Linked DNA regions of Homo sapiens: region 2 is linked to region 1. The links are contacts of gene promoters, found by promoter capture Hi-C in human tissues and cell types (Jung and others, 2019). All regions are on one chromosome and are shown on one strand. Each heading gives the region's core, a stretch centred on a gene start or on the middle of the fragment in contact. The rest is flanking DNA. Distances are from core to core; before and after follow the strand shown.

Region 1 (6,923 bases), core at 3,140-5,639:
AGTGCCGTGGCACGATCTCGGCTCACTGCAACCTCCGCCTCCCAGGTGCAAGTAATTCTCCTGCCTCAGCCTCCTGAGTAGCTGGGACCACAGTTTTGCGCCTCTATGCCCAGCTAATTTTTGTATTTTTAGTAGAGACGGGGTTTCACCATGTTGGCCAGGATGGCCTCGATCTCTTGACCTTGTGATCTGCCTGCCTTGCACTCCCAAAGTGCTGGGATTACAGGTGTGAGCCACCCCACCCAGCCGAATCAGTTGTTTTAAGTCACCAAGCTTGTGGAGGTTTTTTGCAGCAGACACAGAACACCAAGCCAGGAACCTGTGGCGTCTCCCTGTGTCCTGGTCAGGGGACTTGCTGGGTGGGTGCCTTAGCCTGGATGGGCTCATGGAAGGGAGAGCAGGTTGAGGGCGGACCCTGTGTTCAGTTTTACATCCTGCTCCTGAAATGAGTGTGGAATGTGCGCTTGGAGCTGTCCAATTGGCAGGGGGTGCTGGTCTCTGGAGCTCTTGGGGTGGCTTGAGGGAGGGAAGGAAGCATTCACCTCAGGTGCTGGTGAGTGATGCAGACGCTGAGGAGTCCTCTGAGTGTGGGGAGTGAACAAATGTGAAATCCAGGTTGAAACCTGGAGATGTCCTCAAATTATGGTAAATGGAAAAGAAAGTATACTGGACATGAGAGGGGAGATAAACCACAGTGCAGAGGTGGCACCAAGCAGGCTGACTGTGGGTCTGAGGGGACATCCACTAGGGTCCCTGCTAGGTGGGAACCCTGGGCCTGGACAATCAGGCAGGCTTGGGGTTCCCTCAGTACAAGACCAGCAGGAACATTGTAATTCCTGTGTCCTCATTACCATGGTTTTCATTTACGGCTGCAGGATGGAAAATCTGTAAGGAATGCAGGATGATTCCTACCAAATATTTCCTTCTGGGATGCCTGGACTCAGGCCCCATTGATAACGGGATGCTGGTTCTCTGGAGTTGATTGTCAGCCAAAGGCCACTCCCCTATGGAAACCACTCTCAACTCAAGGCCCAAGACTGCAGGATAACACGACCAGTGGAGAAGTTCAGGGCAAGTGATTTATTAGAGCAAGACGTTGAAACCTTTACATTCTGCAGTGAAGATCAGGGTATCATTGAAAGATGGTGGAAACTAGCATTAAAAACTTTTTACATCTCAGCGATCACATTTCTCTGCTATTTTTCCCTGAAATAGAAAAGGAAAGAAAGGAAGGTGAGGTCGGTCATGCAGCTCCTGGAGACAACAGGTTAACATCCAAGTGGCCGATGGAATTCTGCTCCCAAAGACAATTGAAGGGTAGAGGCAGGAACCCAGTGTGTGTGGGAAACCAGGGCCTAGACCTAGACCAGCCTTTCCTTGCCAGGCCAATAGCCCTGGGGGGACACAAGCATAAGGCCCAGGGTCCTCATAGAGGGGGGACAGAGCAGAGCAGCAAGAGGTTATTGTCTGGGCTGTCCCAGGACTTGGAGTCTCCTGTTCCCCGCAATGAAAGACCCAGTGCTGAGAGGTTGGTCAGGGCTGGGAGGGCCTCTGGGAAGCTTGGCTTCCAGGAGACTCCAGCCTCCCCATGTGGGAATTCTGCCTCAGGGCCTGAGCACCTCAATCCTGAGCCTGCAGCTTCCATGAGCATTTGCAGCTAAACCTCAGGACAGCAACCCAGAGGCAGCCAGGCTGAGAGGCCCCTGGAAAACCTCTGATTTCTTGAGAAAGACAGAGTGAGAACATCCCGCTTCCATGGCACTGCAGGAGGTAGAGTAGCGAGGGTCTTGGCCCACTGGCCGTGGTCAGGAGAGCATCGTGGGTGAGGAGGGGAGCGTGGAGTCTGAGGAGCTGGGAGGGGCTCCTTCCTGGTTCTGCAGAAGCTGCAGAGAAGTCCAGCCCTCCAGCGCAGCATCTGCAGGAGCCCCTGCTCTAGGTCCCTCCCTGCCTTCTTCTCCCTGTTCAAGGCTCCCACACTCCCCAGTACATTCCACAGTGACTGTGTGAGGTCCACTTGGCCTCAGGAAAGTCCCCAGGTGGAGAGACAGTTGTGCTTGGCCCTTCACCACCCCTGCCTGGACCCAGGCTCACTCCCCATGTCCTCAGCACACTCTGGGGACACGGCATCCAGGTAGGTGACCTGAGAAGGAGGAACATGCAGGAGGCTGTGTGCAGCTGAGTTGAATTCTGCAGGTGAAATGGTAGCACCCACCCTGTGGTCCCAGGTGACCTTCTCAAGCGGTGACCAGTAAGGCAGGTGCCCCACCACCTGTGTCCCTCACAGAGCAGCAAGCAAGCTGACCTCACTTCACACTGTGCCGCTGACCAGAAGCCTGGACACATGAAAGAGACAGAAATTACCAATGTTTTTGTAATTAGCACTCTTTTCTCATAGGCCATCGTATCCACGCATTTCTTCACTTCCATCTTGGCTGCAACAGCTTCCAGAGGTGCCTTAAATTTGGCAAGTTGGAACTTGAACACAGGTTTTCCAGCTAATAAGAAGCCTGTGATTTCAGAACCAAGAGCTTGGCAGACCACTGCATTTGCTGGAGCAAAAGAATAAAAATATAATTTGTGTAAGGAAATCAGTGTTTCTCCCATGCCTCCCTGATGTCAGACCAGACAGGAACCCCAGGGTTTTAGGCTTCTATTCAATAACTATGCCAATGACAATGTCAGACCCAGGAGGTTGTGACTTCCTTGAGGTCACACAGCAAAGGGTAGAGCTAGAACTGGAGAACCAACTTCCTGATCACTCATTCAGTCTTTGTTTTTTTTTTAAAGCACACTCATTACTTTCCAAAGCTTCTCTGGATGGATGGCCAACGTTCTCTTTTCTAGATTTGAAAATAATCACTTTTCTATGCCAGTTAAGTGACACTTTATTAGTCTTGGACATTGGTGAAGAGGAGGCTTTGAGTAATCAAATTTTGAAGTGGAATGGTAGAGTCAGAATCCTATCAGAAATTAGAGAAATGAGTAAATCTGGAACAGAAGAAGTTAAAATTATTGAAATGTTGAAGGTGATGTTTTGAGAACAAGTTGTAGAATTTAGGCTTATGTGATTCAATACAGACAGAGCTAAAAGGTAAACAAATTAAAACAAAATAAAATAATGTGAATCAGTTTTAACACACATTAGAAGCTTATACAGGAAATTGTACTTGGCCCATATTCTGCAGCAGCATCTAGAATATTTGGAGAGGATGAGAGGAGGGAACTGAGGCTCATTCCTGCTCCCACTGGGAATTTTGGAAAGACCTGGAGTAATCATTTTGCTTGGTCTGGAATCTCCATTCACCTAAGTCTTTTGCAAACACCATGCATCCAGAAAGCGCCCCACCATGCTCAACATGACCCCTGACTACCCGACTTCAAACTGTGGGGAGAATTTGGAGAGGGTAGGATCGGGGTGTCACAGGGAAACAGGGAGAGGTTCAGAAAAGAAGAGGAAAGAGAAAAATCAGAGTCTGGATCGGTCCTGACAGGGGAAAGGAAAGTACCCAAATGAACTGGGGAAAAATCAGCCAGAATTAATTTTAGAAAAATAGAAGTTCTGAGGCTAACCATTGTAGTATTTCTACCACCATTACGGTAGGACCCCTAGAAGATATATTGAGTGCTGCTTATTCTAAGAATTCATTTGCAGGCTTCTTATTGAGAGAATCAGAAAGCACCATCTCTTCTTGGACTGAGAGTTCTCCAAGGATCCTTCGAGATGTAACATTTTATGAGTCTGAATTTACAATGTAAGAAGCTGTGAGCTCAATTGGCACCTAAAGGTCTGGGGACGAGAATGTCTGACAGTACAGTGATTGGCTTCACATCCACAGCTAGACCCTTGGCACAATAATCCCACTCCATTCCCATTGCCACTCCCGGAAGAAGCTCTAAGCACCAGAGATAGGAGGAGGCGCGGGGAGGGTGAGCATCTTGCCCACGGTGAAAGGGCTGAGAAGTGGCTGAGCCCAGAGTCACCCCAGACCTCACATTACATCATCTGACACAGATCCCATCCAAGAGTGAAGCTCAGGCAGAATTCCTAACGTTCGCCTGCATTGATTTTCTGCAAAACTTCCTAGGTACTGGGGATTTGATGAAATGAGGCCCGAGCTTTATGAGCAGTTCCTTCAACAAGCACAGGATAAGGTTTGGAATTTTGGTTTGTTCCAGACCCCAACCTTAACCTTAATAGGTGACCTCGTGCTCAGAGAAGGGTGTGTCCCAAGGGCTGGTGCTGGACTCATGACTGATGTACTCACCCCGGTAGCAGCAAAGGGCCAGCGTGAGCAGCAGGAGACACACCGACAGCCTCATGGTGGCTTATTCTGCTGTGAGCTCGGCTTTAACCAATGATGAGTGATTTAGACTCAGCCCCGGGAGCCTGTGGAGCCGTGGAGCCCAGGGCTATTTGTACCTAGGGAGCCTGGCTGGTCCTGCCCACATGGGCATCTGGCAGGTGATGAGGCCTGGCTTCCAGCCCTCCCTTCCTAGCCAGGGCTGCTGCCATCCATCAGTGTCACATCCCCACACCTCCCTGCATCCTGAGTGGGGCGGAGCACGGGAGGGCAGCCCTGCAGAAACTCTGCTCTGTGCTCCAGGTGAGTGTCCAGGTGCCTCTGGCAATGTTCCCTGGAACCTCAGTTTGCTTTTGGGCTTTTGAGGATTATCTCTCTGTTCTTTATGTCAGTGCAAGGGCAAATGTGAGTTCTCATTTCAGGAGGACAGAAACCGGGGGTGCAGGAAGCTAGGGGCTGTGGTTTGGTTATAGGAGAGCAGGCACAGAAGAGACCCCACTTTGACCTCCACTGCATGTCTGACAATCAGCCACACGTGTTTCAGCTGCACATAGATCAAGTCTGAACCAGACCTATCCTCCCACTCAGCCCCTTCCATCCCCACCATCTTCACCACATAGGTACCTAAAACATAGCTGCATACACCCCACCTTTGGAGGATTTCCTTGGGGAAAACAACCACTCCCCCTGTCCTCTACTCTGTCTCACTCCAAGATCTGTGTCTTTATTTATGGGTGGAGTTGTCAACATAGCACAGGTTCAAATTTTCTGTCTACTAAAAGCAAGCCTCCAGTGACCTCTAGCCACCCATATCTCCTCATAGGGCTGATGGGATGATTAAATTGCCCAACTTTTTTTACCCAAGGAGCTGCTGGGGTGTCTGGAGGCAAACAGGCATCAGAAATACTGGTCTTCGCTTCTAGGCAGGGACGATAATGGAAAGGAAGAGATGGATGAACAGGGTGGGTGGTCACTTCCCTCTAACCTCTGGGCTCAAGTTTTCCACTTCTAACCCAGCTCTGCTGCCTGGGTCATCTCATTGTTGATGGAAAGCGAAGGCCATCCCCAGCAAAAGCAATAGACACCCTTCTGCCCTTCCACTGCAGTGCCATCATTTGGTGAGTAGGAAATCACCAGAAATTTGGCTCTTAAGTGAACACACATTTGAGAACAGTCACAGCCCAGGCCAGAGCTTTCCATTCTCTGCTCTGCAATCAAATCACTTGGGGCTCTTAAACTATACTGACTCCCCGCAGGCTGCTTCCCTTTCTGGGGATTTTGATTCAGTAGTTCTAGGGCGAGGTCCTCTTCTGTTTAAACTGCTCTGGTGGGTCTGATGGGCAGCAGTACTGAGAACCACCCAGAAAGACCTTTATGAAGGAAGCGGACCTTATGGTCTGTGTCATCAGAGACACCTTGGCAGGTCTGGCTGAGTCCCAGCTGAGGGCGACAATGCCTCTCACTTCCATCACCCAAAATGGTGGGGAAGCCCCTGATGCCACCTCTGCCTCCAACCCTAAGGAGTGGAAGGTCCAGTGGCAAAGCCCATGGCTAGGAGGGTTCAGATCCATGTCTATGGGCTATTGAACCCTCTGAAAATTAGTTTATGTAAACACAGTTTTCTCGTTTGTAAAAGTAGGTTAAAAATGGTGCCTACATCATTGGGTTGATAGATGTTCAAATGAGTGTGTGTGTGTGTGTGTGTGTGTAAAATTTACCAGGTCTGGCCAGGCGCAGTGGCTCACACTTATAATCCCAGCACTTTGGGAGGCCGAGGCGGGTGGATCACCTGAGGTCAGGAGGTTGAGACCAGTCTGGCCAACATGGTGAAACCCCGTCTCTACTAAAAATACAAAAAATTAGCTGGGTGTGGTGGCATGTGCCTATAGTCCCAGCTACTCAGGAGACTGAGGCAGGAGAATCTCTTGAACAAGGGAGGCAGAGTTGTGGTGAGCTGAGATGGCACCACTGCACTCCAGCCTGGGCAACAAGAGCAAAACTCCATCTCAAAAAAGAAAAAAAAATTAACAAGGTCTGACATGTAGTAAACGCTCAATAAATGTTGACTACTATTACCTTGTCCCACCTGTCATACATTTCATGGATCATTACCAGTTCCTAGTTTAAAGCACAGCCAACCCCTCAAAAAAAAAAATCACTGATTTTCAGAACTACAATTCATGGGCCACATAAGGACATATTAGTTAATATCAGACCCCACATACAACAGGGGTCCCCTAAAATTATAATACTGTGTTTTTACTGCACCTTTTCTGTTTTGATATGTTTAGATACACAAATACTTGTCATTGTATTACAACTGCCTACAGTGTTCAGAACAGTAATATGCTGTACAGGTTTGTGGTCCAGGAGCAACAGGCTTACCTATTAATAGCTGAGGTGTGCAGTAGGCTATGCCATCTAGGTTTGTATAACTGCATTTTATGATGTTCACACAATGACAATTGCCTATGCATTTCTCAGAATGTGTCCCAGTCACTAAGTGACACACAACTGTCTAAGGAAACCTGGATACACCCCCACTATCTGAAATAAATGGAGGAAACCCAGCTCATGGTCTCTGAGACTGCAGACCCAGGGACACGAATTTAGGTTCTTACA
Region 2 (6,166 bases), core at 3,324-5,823, 39 kb before region 1:
GTGCTTGGATGAAGCTGTGATCCAAGAATTACAAGAACGTGGAAAACGGTTACCTAAACCAGGGGGGCACTCAGAGGAGGTCTTTGGAGGGTGTGAATGAAAAGAAATGAAGAAAGGATGTAGGCTGGAATAACAGTCAGCCTTCAGCAACTTCACACACAATGAAAACAGGAAGACCTGATCTCAGTGCATTCTCAGTACTGAGCAACATGGACTTCTGGGGTAGGAGAGAAACTATAGATTGGCACAAAAGTAATTGCAGTTTTCGCCACTAAAGGTAATTGCAAAACTGCAATTACTTTTGCACCAAACTAATACAAGTGGTTGAAACTAAGGTTGGTGAAACTGCCATTCCTTTCGTCTATGGAGCAGGATGCAGCCTCTGTGTGTGTGTGTAGGTAGGTGTGGTGAGGGGATTGACAATAACCAGGCATGAGGGAAATACTCCATGGATCCTAAGTTCCAGGGAGGAGTGAAGTTCTTGTGAAATCTCTGGATCTATTTGGAGAGGCAGACAGGACCTATCTTGTGAGTTAGGACAACATAGCAGTGATTTGAGGAGAAGTTTTTGGGGTGTGCTACAAGCTCATTGTGGACTAGAAATCTTGAGTGGTTTGGCATCTGGTTAATAAGAAGTCATCAGAAATTCCTGGACGTCTGGCATCTGTGGTTTGCTCACCAGTGATAAAGGAGGGTGTTGTGAATCAGGAATCAATCACTGATTTTTCAGCTGACAGTGATTCACCAAGGAAGGGTACAGAATCTACTTTCCCCATCTCCACTGAGGAACAAAACAACCACTTGTCCTGTGTTTGTCAAAGTCCTGATGTCTCCTTCTGACCATCATCAGCATATTCACCTTCTACCCACATGCAAACATAGCATTAGTGCCTGTCCTAGATTGCGGTAAAAGCAGGCCAAGGCCAATTTTCGTGTCCTCAACTCCTGAGCACCTCCCACGCTAGGGACTGTGGATGGTGCCAGGGACTCCAGTGGATCGGGGAACAAAAACACCTCGCCCAAGACAGAGATAGACTTTCCTCTAAAGATTGAGGGCAAAGGAAAAAGGGTGAAAAAAATATACAGGAAATAGGGGAAAAAAAGAAAATGATAATTCTTCTCCACAATTTGGAGCAACTTTACACTTGTGAAAACAAAGGACAACAAACAATTTTTAAAAACCTCAAAACACCCACAGAAAAGACTTTTTAAATTTCTGTGGGAAATGGCAACTGTCACCCAATTTCAGGGATAACAGTGACAATGGTGAGGATATTCAATACCCAAAGAATAATGGATTCTGAGACAGGGACTGGCAGCATCGTATCTGCTGGTCCATAATCCCTATGAACCAAATCCTCATTCAGAGAGGTGGACTTCATCAGTGACTCAACTCTGCAGCCAACAAAGGACCCAATGTTATGCTTGCACACAGCAGGTGTGCACTAAATACAAGATAAACATATTAATATGATTGGAGTTCATTTCAGTCTGTTTTGCTGGAGTCTAGATTCTAGTTTCTGAACTTAATTTGGGCTTCTAAGTTAGTTTCCCTACAAAGCTGTCCCAGTTTAATGAAGATCCATTTGTGAATTTTTATTTTTGTTGCAACTCCCTTTGAGGACTTATTCATAAATTATTTCCCAAGGCTGATGTCCAGAATGGTGTGACTTAGGTTTTCTTCTAGGATTATCATAGTTGGAGGTATTACATTTAAATCTGTAATCCATCTTGATTTAACTTTTGTATATGGTGAAATGTAGGGGTCCAGTTTTAATCTGCATATGGCTAGACAGCTATCCCAGCACTATTTATTAACTATGGAGTCCTTTCCCCATTGCTTAATTTTGTTGACTTTGTCAAAGATCAGATGGCTGAAGGTGGATGGCTTTATTCCTGGGATGCATTGGTCTATGTGTCTATTTCAGTACATAACTCACAGACCCTATAAAACAACAACACAGTAGAAAATACAAAGTAACCAGCTAACAACTTCATGATAGGATCAAAACTACACATATCAATATCAACCTTGAATGTAAATGGTCTAAACATCCCACTTAAAATGCACAGAGTTGCAAGTTGGATTTAAAAAAAAGACCCATTCATCTGCTCTCTTCAAGAGCCCCATTTCACACATAAAGACACCCATAGCTTAAAGGGTTGTACAGAGATCTAGCATGGAAATGAACTCTTAACTTTGGATGGAAAGAAACCTAGGAATAAAAATGAAATAGAAGACAGGCCCTTCTGGCAGGGTGTGGTGATTCATGCCTCTAATCCCAGCACTTTGGGAGGCCGAGGCAGGTGGATCACCTGAGATCAGGAGTTCGAGACCAGTCTGACCAACATGGTGAAACCCCGTGTCTACTAAAAATACAAAATTAGCCAGGCGTGGTGATGCATGCTTGTAATCCCAGCTACTTGGGAGGCTGAGGCAGGAGAATCACTTGAACCCGGGAGGCGGAGGTTGCAGTGAGCCAAGATCGTGCCATTGCACTCCAGCCTGGGCAACTGAGCAAGACTATGTCACAAAAAAAAAAAAAAAAAAAAAGAAAAGAAAAAGAAGACAGGCCCTTGTAAGAGAGTATAGCTCAATGCAAATGGGATGAGGAGATCACAGAGTGTAATGATTCCAGGCATCACAATGCAGCCACAGTTGCTTGTAAGAAGAAAATGTAAATAGAGGATGATGACGCTCTCTCAGGCCTCATAGCATGAGATTAATGCTGTGCTTCACAGTTTCTGGTCCTCTCAAAAAACCAGAGGCCCTCTAGGAAGTGAAAGAGCATTGTCCCCAACCATCCCAGCAGGAGGCCAGAGTAGAGAAGGGCTTATCCACTGTTCTTGCCCGCCTATACCTGTCATCTCAGTGTTAGACAAAGATACTTAATACAAATTTCAGAAAGTATTTAATGACTCATTGATTGTTTAGTAGTCAGATGTTTAATTTCCAAGTTATTGGAGGATTTCTTGTTATCCTGTTCTTGATTTTAATTTGACTCAATTATGGTCACAGAACATGGTTTATATGATCTCAATTATTTTATTTGCTTTTATTTGTTTGTTTCTTTTTGAGACAGGGTCTCACTCCATTGTCCATTCTGGAGCACAATGGCATGATTTCAGCTCACTGCAGCCTCAACCTCCCTGGCTCAGGTGATCCTCTTGCTTCAGCCTTCTGAGTAGCTGAGACTACAGACATGCACCACCATGCCCAGCTAATTTTTGTACTTTTTGTAGAGATGGGGTTTGCCATGTTGTCCAGGCTGGTCTGGAACTCCTGGGCTCACACGATCCACTCACCTCAGCCTCCCAAAGTGCTGGTATTACAGGCATTGTTAATGGTGGAGGGTGTCCAGGTTCTTGGCATCTTGAATGAAGAATTGGACAAAACGCACAAATAAAGCAAGCAAGGAATGAAGGGATTTACTGAAAATGAAAGTATGTTCCACAGCGTGGGAGTGGGCCCGAGCATAGGGGCTCAAAGGCCCCACTACAGAATTTTTGGGAGTTTAAATACCTGCTAGAGGATTCCATTGGTTACTTGGGGTAAGCCCTATGTAAATGGAGAGGATGAAGTAAAATGACAAAGTCATTGAGTTGGCCTACGCCCTATGGAGAGGATATTTCCTCTCATAGCTGAAGTGTGAATTGGCCTTATGTTCTCTGCCTCCAGAACCTATTTTTCTGCATCATCTCCCCCGTGAGGGATGTGATCTCCATAAGTCTTTATGGGAGGCAGAGGGACTGATGGTCTTTTTTCTGTAACTGCTTCATGTTGACTTGGGGATCATGGAACTCTCACCCTGTTCTGTCTAGTGGAGGTGGAGTAGCTTCTTGATGGCATTGGGGCGGTGTCTTCACCTGGAATTGGCTGGAACCTTTGTTGCATGATTATCTGAAGCTTGAAGGTCTCTAGGCAAGAGGAAATGAATTTGGTTAAAAGATTTAATGGGAACTTCAGGGGGCAGATACCTCCGCTCTTAGAAATTTTCATTATAGAGATTTGCAAGAGAAAAAACAAAACCTGGTCTGTTCTAGAATCTATGTGTTTCCTTAAAGTCTTAGCACAAGCAACTCCATTTTGGTTTGGTTTGGTTTGTTGGGGCCTAGTGCATGACCTTAGTCCAAAACAATGACCGCCCTAGAATTTTGTTTTTAAAATTCCCCCTTTATGGACAAGTTCTCACTTAGGTGAGAGTGTGACACAAACTTAGGGGCTTAACGCCACTCTCAGTTACCATTATTTTGGGTTTCTGGTCTCAGCACATCATTTATAGGTTACAGGGTCCTCATGGTCGCACATTTCTTTTAGCCCCTGTTATTCCAGTTGAAGGGAGACCATATGACATTCTAGAGATGGCTGAGTAAAAGTATTTAAAACCTTTGAGAGAATACAGTGCACCAGAGAGACTACTGGGAGGATAATACCAAGAGTTTGCAGTATGCTCCTCACCCAAGGTCTCCATAAACCAAACCACTTCAAATTAAATAGATCAAATAATGAGCTAGATAAAGTTTACTCTCTTGACTAAGCAATTTCTTCATCAATCCCCTACCACTGAATTTCTCTAATCTTCATTTGATGTAATTCCCCATAGGCCAAAATTGCCAGCAGCTGCACAGGTACTTTTCTGGTTAGCTAATTCTATTATTTAGCATAACTTTCAGAAGAGAATTTAAAGTCTGTTGTGTAAGTGTGGCCTATACAGTAAAGTTTGCTATGGAACCTATCATGAGGGATACATTTCTAATCATTGTCTCTTTTACTTTAAACCACATAAAAAGGACCAAACAAATGATACCCTTCTGGAAGTGTGAAGGCCTCCTGGCAATGTTCTCTTTCAACCCATGATATGGGTTAAGAGGAGTGAACCAAGGTTTTGTTTTTGATGATTGTGAGGCAACGTGTGTACCATTAAAGTTTCTTACCTACCTTGGCCGTTCACCTTTTATCTATCAAAGTATAAGATTACCCAGGTATAAGGCTGGCTGCAAACTCCTTCACAAATAAGAGTATACCCCATAAGGGTGCATAACAGACCCCTTTTCCATTTCTATTGTTCATAGAGGCATAAGCAAGAAAAAAAATTCAAAGATAAGAGTTTCATGATAGTAGAAGTCTCGATCTGTGAACTTGGGAAAAGCTGTTCACATCAAGGATGTCATCTTCTTCTTGGGAGAAGTTTCCGTGGTTAGCTTTTCCTCAAGGGTTCCAATGAATGCACAGTTCCAAAAGCGGGGAGGGACCCCTTCTCAGTTGTGAGACCATGAACCCGAATCCCAAGGCCCCAAAATTTTGTTGTAGTGTGGATGGCAAGGATAGTCTTTTTCTGACGTTTCCAGGAGATTCAAACCATAAAAAGCTTTCTTTACCTGGTGAAAATACACTGTAGCATAATAATCTACTGTTATAACATCATCCCTCTTGCATGGGAAAGCTTTTATACAACCAGAAAACATGCACTGAAAATTAAAATGGGATGAAATCCCTTTATAAAATGTTTAAGTTGCCCACCAGGCGACCAAATGTACCTGAAGCTTTAATTGTTTTCCCAGGAATATGGGATCAAGCATCGGTTATAAATTATTTTAGTAATTTGTAAGCCACTTTACCAATGTATTCAATTGGGATCATTATATCTTTTCCACGATGAGTCATGGAATGCAGAAGTTTTAATAATAAAAGCTTTAAGGACTCAGGAAGGACAAGATGGCCATCCTGTTTCTCCATGAGTCCATGTTTAGTTAACATTAGACTTATATCCTCTTGGATACCAGTTGTTTATCCAAATTAGGCACATAACACTGGCAAGAAAATTTCATTATTTTTGTGGTTTACAATAACTTAACATAATAACCATAATTATAATTGATAGCATATACTTAGACATTAGAATTTTAGAAATCCCATACAATTTAGGAATATATATTAGTATTATTCACAAAAATATAACCTAAAGAAGATTGAACATCATTTTGGCCCATGTACCTAAACACATCAAATAATCCTGTTTACCTCTTTTCAAGATGTTTTCAGGGGCCCTCTGATTCATCTAGAAAGCCAGGAATTAGGAAAGACAATTTTGAAACTGAAGTTTGATTTTGGAATTCCAGATTACCATAAATTATTTATTTTGCCAAAATGATGACTCAGAAATCT

The links. Contacts are between HindIII fragments. The study calls those that stand out against the background at their distance.
Region 2: a contact is called between a fragment that was not itself captured here and the fragment with the promoter of SCGB1D1 in region 1, in 1 of the 25 tissues and cell types used here (H1 embryonic stem cells).

What each region holds. Positions count from the first base shown.
Region 1 is chr11:62,187,682-62,194,604 of GRCh38, reverse strand. SCGB1D1 (secretoglobin family 1D member 1) reads right to left here and starts at 4,389. Exons shown (of 3, transcript NM_006552.2): 1 at 4,266-4,389; 2 at 2,362-2,549; 3 at 1,066-1,206. The coding sequence starts at 4,320. The coding sequence ends at 1,177. RefSeq lists an enhancer at 1,835-2,335. The HindIII fragment of the contact is 12,490 bases long and covers 2,979-6,923 here.
Region 2 is chr11:62,227,489-62,233,654 of GRCh38, reverse strand. No RefSeq gene overlaps it. Among named protein-coding and RNA genes, the nearest start is that of SCGB1D2, 12 kb to the left of the region's middle. The HindIII fragment of the contact is 5,846 bases long and covers 1,651-6,166 here.